3 separate regions of the Homo sapiens genome follow, and all the other regions are linked to region 1. The links are contacts of gene promoters, found by promoter capture Hi-C in human tissues and cell types (Jung and others, 2019). All regions are on one chromosome and are shown on one strand. The core of a region is centred on a gene start or on the middle of the fragment in contact, and the rest is flanking DNA. Distances in the headings are between cores, read along the strand shown.

Region 1 (2,826 bases), core at 17-2,516:
AGAATTGTTCTATAGGGAGAATCAAAGGAGTAAAGAAACAACAACAAGGTAATATGAGTGAAGTAAATACAGTATTTTTTTATGAAGTTGAAATCATGCTTTACAAAGATTAATGGAAAAACTGGATACACATGTTTCAAAAGGTAGAAAAAATTGTCTGAAAGTTCAGATAGTAAAAAAGAGAAAAGGCAATAGGGAGCCACTGTATGTCCCTGAGCAAAGTTAATTACATTAATAGATCACTAGCAGATAAGCAGAGAGTGTTAACTAACTGGTCAACTTTCCTAATAGAACAAACCTATGTCAAGTCAGTTTCATAAGAATTATGTGACGATCTTCAAAGGTAATAAATGCCTGCAGGGTATTTAAGATTGAGCTATTCGCGGTGAGGAAGGGGGTAGTCATCTGACTTTTTTTATATGACTACAGATTGCTGCGATATGTTATAAGGTTTAGAATTCACTGATCTAGTCCAATTTCTTCCTTTTCCTGTGAGGAGAATGAAGCCAAAGAAGCGTTATGACCTGCTGGAATACTAGCTGCCTAAGTAACTCTATCCCTTAGGCTTTTTCAGCTTCTGTGTATAAGACAGGTGACCTAAAAGTTGTGTGCAGAATGGATTGGAGAGTTAAGTCCTGGAGGGAAGGATACCAGTTAAAAACAATAACAACGGCAAAACAAAACAACTGTGATATTAACCCATGAAATATTATATTAAAGTAGTCAGTATCAGGACCAACGAGAAAGAGGAAAAAATTGAATCACTTTAAACAGACCAAGAATGTAATTCACAATAAGAGATGTCGAAGAAGATAACAATTCAGAGGCTCTCAGATCTGATTCTGCGAAAAAGGTTTGTGATCTGGGCAATTAATTTGGAATCAAAAGAAAGATTTCAGAGTGCATTTCGAAACTTCTAGAATTGTCTCACACAAATAACTTCCTCTGGCTTTCTTTACCCTCCCTTTGATTACCAGAAGCTGAAAGAAAGGAATTAACTTCTTTCTGGCTCAAAGACATCTGGAAAACATATGACCTCCGTCAATATCTCTAACACCAGGTCCCATGATTCAAACTACACACAATCAGTAAGAAAAGGAATTCAACATGTGTGCTATCGGCTCACTTCCTTTCTTGTGTTTATTTCAGAGCAATAAATCAAGTGTTTTCTAAGTTCCTACTCCCAAACTCCTAGTCAGAAAAGGACTCACCTGCCATAGGGAACAGCCTCTGTCCTTTTTTACAGCGTTGGAAAGAGCCTCAGAGTCAAAAATGAAAGTAAACTATGTATTTCCTTATTGCAAAGGGCGGAAACGTGTAATTACAGATTGTGAAACTGCTGCTCAGAATTCCAGACTCATTATCAGGAAGTGCCTTGTCATCAGCAAATTGGCATCCAATTACTGGAATTTAGTTTCTGACTTGGGGGAAAAAAATGAAAATGACAAAATATTATCCTGTGGGTTGACACCTCAGCTTGTTTCTTTTCTTGTTTCCTGTGGCCACCCAAACTTCTTCTATCCATCTGTCTCTTCTCTTCCTGATCTCTCAGTTTTTCTTTCTCTGATTACAAAGAACGACAATGACTGAAGAAGTTTAATCTAACAACTCTTTTTCATTTCCTGATAAGAATTAACCCAATAGTTCATATTTCCAGCTTTTTGGGCAGGCACTGAGCTGCAGGAGTTTTTACATAGTCCAGCAGCTCCCGGAACTCTAGTGAGGCAGGAGTCCCGTCCACTCCCATGGAAAGGGGGCTGAAGCCAGGGAGCAAAATGGCCTTGCAGCAGGTCCATTCTCACAGAAGCCTGCAAGCTTAGATCCGCTGGATTAGAATCCCCACTAGCCAGCATAGCAGCCTGGAGTACGCCAGAGATGACCGAGTTCCCCAGGGGAGGGGCGACTGCCATTACTGCAGCTCTAGTCAGCGGTTTTTCCCTACCAGTGCTAGGGAGGCTGGGCAGATTGGACTGGGCAGCAGTCTTCACAGTGCAGCACAGCCGCTGTGGCAGATCATGGCCAGACTGCTTCTTTAGGTGGGACCGGGATCCATCCCTCCTCTCCCGGCAAGAAATGCTTGCAGGAATTTCAGCAACTCCACCTAGAGTTTACAGACAGAGCTCTCATTTCCCTGGTACAGAGCACCTGCGGAGAGGGGCAGCTGCGGTCTCAGGTTCAGCCAACTTAATCTTTCCTGCCTGCTGGCTCTGAAGAGTATCAGCGATCCAGACAAGGGGGATTCCCCCAGCCCAGTGCACCATCTCTGCTAAGGGATAGCCAGACTCTTTCCTTAAGTGAGTTCCTGATCCTGGGCCTCCTGACTGGGTTAGACCATTCAACAGGGGTTGCCAGACACCTCATACAGGAGAGTTCCAACAGGCGTCAGGTCAGTGATCCTCTGGGAAGAAGCTTCCGGAGGAAGGAGGAGGCAGCACTCTTTGCTGTTCTGCAGCCTCCATTGGTGATACATAGGTGAACAGTGTCTGGAGTAGATCCTCAGCACACTGCAGCAGACCTGCAGAGGAAGGGCCTGAATGTTGGAAGAAAAACAAAAAAAAATAAAACAACAATAACACAGCATCAACAAAAAAGACCCTACAAAAATCCCATCCAAAGGTCAACAGCTTTAAAGATTAAAGGTAGATAAATCCACAAAGATGACGAAAAACCAACGCAAAACCGCTGAAAATTCCAAAAGCTGGAATGCCTTTTCTCCTCAAATGATTTCAACACTTCTCCAGCAAGGGCACAAAACAGGGCTGAAGCTGAGATGGATGAACTGACAGAAGTAGGTATCAGAAAGTGTGTAATGACAAACTTTGCTGA
Region 2 (2,758 bases), core at 240-2,739, 180 kb before region 1:
TTAATATGTATATGAGTCACCTGGAGGACTTGTTAAATGAAGTCAATTAAAAATGCAGACTCTGTTTCAGTCCCTCAGAGAAGAGCCTGAGATTCTGCATTTCTATTGAGTGCCCAGGTGATGCTGTGCTGCTGGTCCCTGGTGCATACTCTTGTAGGACAGTCTTCTGGATGACCTTGGACCAATCCAGCTCTACCCTATTCTTGCAGGTAGTCCTTCAGAATAACTCTAGAATGTTCTGGGAATTAAACATGCTGAGATAGGGAAGGGCTGACTAGAAAAACTCTGACTTGTTTCCAGCCCCGCTTAGAAGCAGGATGTCCTTCAACATTTTAACCCAGCATGTCTTATTGCTCCCAGGGTATAAAACCCAAAGAGTTGAGCTGCTTTTCAGAGTCCCTGAGCTGTGGTGCAGTTGGGACATGCACAGACCAGATTTTATCTGCCTCAGGCAGCTTTCCTCAACCTAGCTCATCTTAAATCCCAGTCTTCTGTCATATACTGCTGCCTATCTGTAAGTAATAATTCCACTTCATATAACTTGTCCGTGTGTGTGTATGTGTGTGTATGGGGGGTATTCTGTCTCACCAGACTCAGACAGCTTGGTAACCAATGTACAGTGAACCTGCTTCACAGCTCGGATTAACAAAATATTATAAAGAAGAACATGATTTTCTGAGCTTCCTTTGGGCACCATACATTTTGAAAAATCTCAGCACCAAATGTTAAAATACTTTCCCTCTTGTTTCCCTCTTGTCCCAAAACCATCACTATATACTGGAATAGGAGTGAGCTGTTCACTTAAAGCCTGTTATCAATAGGTTTGTCAATGGCCTATTAGGTGGCCTGGTATAAAAGTACAGCCCAAGAAGATGTCTGTATCAAATGGGGACTGCCTCACCCAATGATATTCACTTCAGGTTTTGTGGAGATTTTGTGTCTGTGCGTGCTTCAGTGGGGAAAGACAGGAAGAGAGCGAGAGAGAATCAGCAGAGCAGAGGAGAGAGAATACATAACAAACAGTGTCTTCATTCTTAGAGGATATAAAGGCTACTTTCTACAGTTACTGCTGCATCACTGGAGTCTCTGACAGACACTAGAACTGGAGTGAGTCCTATTGTGTACTCAGTTCTTTCTGAGACCTGATATGCAATTCTTGAGACATCTTATGTTACTTGCTTATGGATCCTCACAAATAAACAAATTATTTACATATGAAATAACTGAGTATCTGAGAATTCTCAACATTCTCCCAGAAAAGCCCTAAGCTCCTCTACTGTTCAGACTCTTCAAATGTCTACTTCTGTACTTTGAAGAATTATAGTGAAAACTTTCCTCAAACTCTGTCACTGGGAGTATATAGAGAGCTAGGTGCTTTTCCAGTAATGCTTATGCACAAACAAGATTTATAATCCAGAGAATTTCACCAACTTTAAGACATTCTCGGTAGAAAAAGCAAATGGGGAAGAAGTAAAGATAGATTCTTTCATTATTATCAATGGTAACCATAATACTCAAGCTAACCAGTGGTTAGCAAACACAAAGCAGGGGGAAGAATCCCATCCTTATGTTAAGATTGTAGCTAGAGTCTTATTTAAAGACAATTTCAATTTAATGTTCAAGGAGATATCTATGAAAATTCAATTGGATTTCAAATTTCAGGAATTCATAAGGTCAGGGAAAATCTTAACAAGTGTGGTAAAGGTAAAAATATCTCAGATCCTTACCTTAAATATTGAAAAAACATGTGACATGCTGACAACATGTATGAAACTGCCCTTTCTCCACTCCCAGGACACCTTATCTCTGAAAAAAAAAATTATTTTAGCAGTGTGAAATAGACTGGGATGTTTGAAATGGAGTTTTACCAACAGAGTTTATATTTTACATCTCACAGACTGAGGGATTTCAAGGTAAGTTTATGGTATTAGGGAAGGAAAAGACATCTTGTAAAATCCACAAGGGTCATGATGGTAAGAGAAGTTGTCTGACTGAGATGAGTTTTCTAAAATCTTGATTCCCCAAACTGGTGCTCATCTGACTGTAATGAGATTTTTTTTTAAAAAAACAAAACACCTCAATATTATAAAGCATTAAATTCATACAAAGAAATAGACATTAAGATGTATATATACATCTTACATTAGGTGCATCAATGAGTACACAGGCTGGGAACAAGATTGCCCAGCTAAGTATAACTAGGGAAAATGAACTTGCCTGCTATCTTAATGACTGTCTTTTAGGAAGGGTTACTTCTTAGACCCATGTGTAACTCACAAATAGATAGGGGAAACCTATTAGAGAAAAAATATGAGGTTGCCACAGAAACGTTAAGTAAGCCCTACCTCTGGTAGGTGAGCAGTTCCAGGGTTTCCATTTTTTTCTGACAGTATATGAAAGAAAATGCTTAAAAATTTTGAAATTCTAGAATGAAGACAGCATCACGTAACTTTGTTCTCATTGCTTCAAAGTTTTGGGAGGAAACCATGGCTCTTTCATGTTCCCCATTGGCCCCTCCCCAACAATAATTTTACCACATATGCTACTGGTTTGCAGTGGTTTGATTTGTTGTTTTCTTAGAGGGAAAATGAAAATTTATCATTTCTGGAACTTCATACTTCCATTCTTTTAGGAGACTTTGTGAACTTCAAAGCCCTTTAGTTTTATTCTATTTAATCTTCATAAAAATAATTTCAGGGTTATATTTAATAATTATATATTTGTTTTGATTAAAAAGATAATAGGAAATAACTCACAT
Region 3 (2,859 bases), core at 98-2,597, 210 kb before region 1:
ACTAGAAAGATCATCTAGACAGAAAGTGAACAAAGAAACACTGGATTTAAACTGGATTTTAGACCAAATGGACCTAACAGACATCTACAAAACATTTTACCTAACAGTTGCAGAACACAGCGCATGAAACATTCTCCAGAATAGACCATATGTTAGGCAACAAAACGAGTCTCAATACATTTCAAAAAATCAAAATCATAGCAAGCTTCTTCTCAAAACTCAATGGAAAAAAAAAGAGAAATACAAGAGGAACTTCAGAAATTATACAAATACATGGAAATTAAACAATATACAACAACCACTGGGTCAGTGAGGAAATTAAAAAGAAAATTTAAAAAAATATTGAAGCAAATAAAAATGGAAACACAACATACCAAAACATAAAAGATACAGCAAAAGTAATGCTAAGGAGGGAAGTTTATAACAATAAATGCCTATCTCAAAAAAGTAGAAATATTTCAAGGAAACAATCTAACGATGCACTTCAAGAAACTATATAGAAAAGCAAGAACAAACCAAATACAAAATTAGGAGAGGAAAGAAATGATAATAAAGACCAGAGTAAAACTAAATGATAGAGAGACTAAAGAAAAAACAATGCAATGGATCAATGAAATAAAAAGTTGGTTTTTGAAGAGAATAATAAAATTGATAAACCATTAGTTTGACCCACCAAGAAGAAAAAAAAAAGAGAGAGAAAACTGAAACAAAATCAGAAAGAAAAAAATGAGACATAACAATTCATATCACCAAAATAAAAAAGATCATCAGACTATTATGAACAACTGTACGCTAACAAATTGGAAAACCTGGAGGAAATGATTAAATATCTGGACACATGCCAATCCGGCAAGATTGAATTAGGAAAAAATAAAAAACTTAAGGAGACCTATAACATAATAAGATTGAATCAGTAATAAAAAGTATTCCAACAAATTAAAGTCCAAGATTGGATGGCTTCACCACTTAATTCTACAGAACCTTTAAAGAAGATTTAATATCAATTCTTCTCAAACTTTCTGAAATACTGATTTATCTTTGTATTCCCAGAATAAGCCACATTTGATCATGAAAAAAAGAAAATGGCTTACCATTTCCAAAGCTAGAATCCTCTTACATCTTTGGACTTTGCATATGTGTGTGTGTGTGTGTGTGTGTGTGTGTGTGTGTGTTTTCCATACGCATCCACACCCCCAGGGTATTCACACAAAAAGCATAGCTTCTTTCCTCAACAAGGACCTTGAGTTTTTTTTTTCTACTAAGGCCCATCTGTGGGACAAATTAATATAAAATGTGTTAAGGTGTTTTCTTAGGATACTAAAGTTAAAAAAAAAAAAAACTCCTGGTAAAGTACTCATAATTATAACAACTTAAAGCTTTGACAAATGTCACATTCCTAGCCATAGCAATTTGTGGAAGAGTTGAGGAAATACAGGTTATTCATCTATCCTTTCCTGTATCTCTCATGTTGATAATGGAGCTAATGGAGTTTGTTTGATTTTGAACATCAACTAAGTAAACCATGGTCTGATATTTCAAAGATGGTCTTACGTCTGAGATGTTAAAATAAAATATACTATAAATCAAGGCAGTATTATTATGAGGTCAATTTTCAAGGAACAGTTTCCCAATAAAGGTTTATCAAGTAAATCTTTAAATAAGTTTTCAGGACACAGCATGCTTTGAGCTTTTCCAGTTAATTAAATATAACTAATTTTCCAGTAGAGGATTTTAAGTCAGTTAAAGCTACCTTCGGAAATATTATAGGAAAAGATTGTATTATATTAATTTATTTGAAGTATTAAAAATTGTAGATAGCGCATGATTTAAATGGAATCCTCTTCTCAGAATGTTAACCACTATAATGTCTAGAGACTACACACTTACAGTACTCTCAGGACAAACTCTGAAAAATAGACCATAAATCCCACAGGGTGGATATACCAAGTTGCATATAAAGCAAACCAAGCCCTTAAGACAGGAAACAGAACATTCAATCTCAATCCAGAGAACTTTAGAACAGATATGTTCAATTCAAAGTTTTCTTCATTGCTTGCATACTAGGCTCTGAGAAAGCCAAAAAAGTAACCAAGAAATGTATACTCAGAACCGACTTTCTGAAGCTGACAAAGTAAAATCCCAAAATGATATAATATGTAGGCATGGGATGTATTTTTGATACCCAACTCAGATTGTATAACAAATAAATGTCAAGGGTATTCCTTTCAAGCCTCACCTGGTTACAGCAAACTTAGAGACACATATAGACACAGACACCACCTATAAATATTTTTTGCTCTAACATAAGCCAAAGCTTTGGAGAAAAGGTAATGTAAGGATATTTGGAGGACTCCACAAGTACATGTAAGAAGCAACCTTGAATTTTAGGTGAATAGTAGTGCCATGTATTGGATGAGCAGGATGCATCCAGGTAGTGTGAGGCCTGAAATTTATTCAAATCAGCATTACAAATGCAAAATTAGTGATGAGAGTAAATATTTATGTAGAACAAAAATAAATCACAAGTTATAAATTTAAAAAAACAAACATTTCATAAACATGAAAAAAATAAAAAATTTTTTAACTGCTTAATTATTTTGACTGTTTATTCTTTAATTCTTCTCAGAAAAAGAACTTTGTAATATAATTTTCTCTAGAGAAAATGAATACCTAATTCTACCTCTCCTTTAGCATGGTTGAATGAAATTTGTTTTTATTACTAATTGTAGAGATCAGAGGTGCAAGAGCCCTTTGCAGGAACTGGGAAGGGGTTACAGAAATGTGTTCACATGTTTTTGTTAATTTCTGCAAAAGTTAGATATTTTAACTAAGATCAGTTCAGACAACTATGTATTTTCA

What was found. The method cuts DNA at HindIII sites, captures the fragments that hold promoters and counts their contacts. A contact is called where the count stands out against the background at its distance.
Region 2: a contact is called between a fragment that was not itself captured here and the fragment with the promoter of CASP4 in region 1, in 1 of the 25 tissues and cell types used here (spleen).
Region 3: a contact is called between a fragment that was not itself captured here and the fragment with the promoter of CASP4 in region 1, in 1 of the 25 tissues and cell types used here (spleen).

What each region holds. Positions count from the first base shown.
Region 1 is chr11:104,967,308-104,970,133 of GRCh38, forward strand. CASP4 (caspase 4) reads right to left here and starts at 1,267. Exons shown (of 9, transcript NM_001225.4): 1 at 1,212-1,267. The coding sequence starts at 1,218. LOC124902813 (a long non-coding RNA gene) reads left to right here. Exons shown (of 2, transcript XR_007062986.1): 1 at 1-853; 2 at 978-1,273. RefSeq lists an enhancer at 1,067-2,266. The HindIII fragment of the contact is 3,226 bases long and covers 1-2,826 here.
Region 2 is chr11:104,782,421-104,785,178 of GRCh38, forward strand. No RefSeq gene overlaps it. Among named protein-coding and RNA genes, the nearest start is that of LINC02552, 170 kb to the left of the region's middle. The HindIII fragment of the contact is 7,314 bases long and covers 1-2,758 here.
Region 3 is chr11:104,760,884-104,763,742 of GRCh38, forward strand. No RefSeq gene overlaps it. Among named protein-coding and RNA genes, the nearest start is that of LINC02552, 150 kb to the left of the region's middle. The HindIII fragment of the contact is 3,490 bases long and covers 1-2,859 here.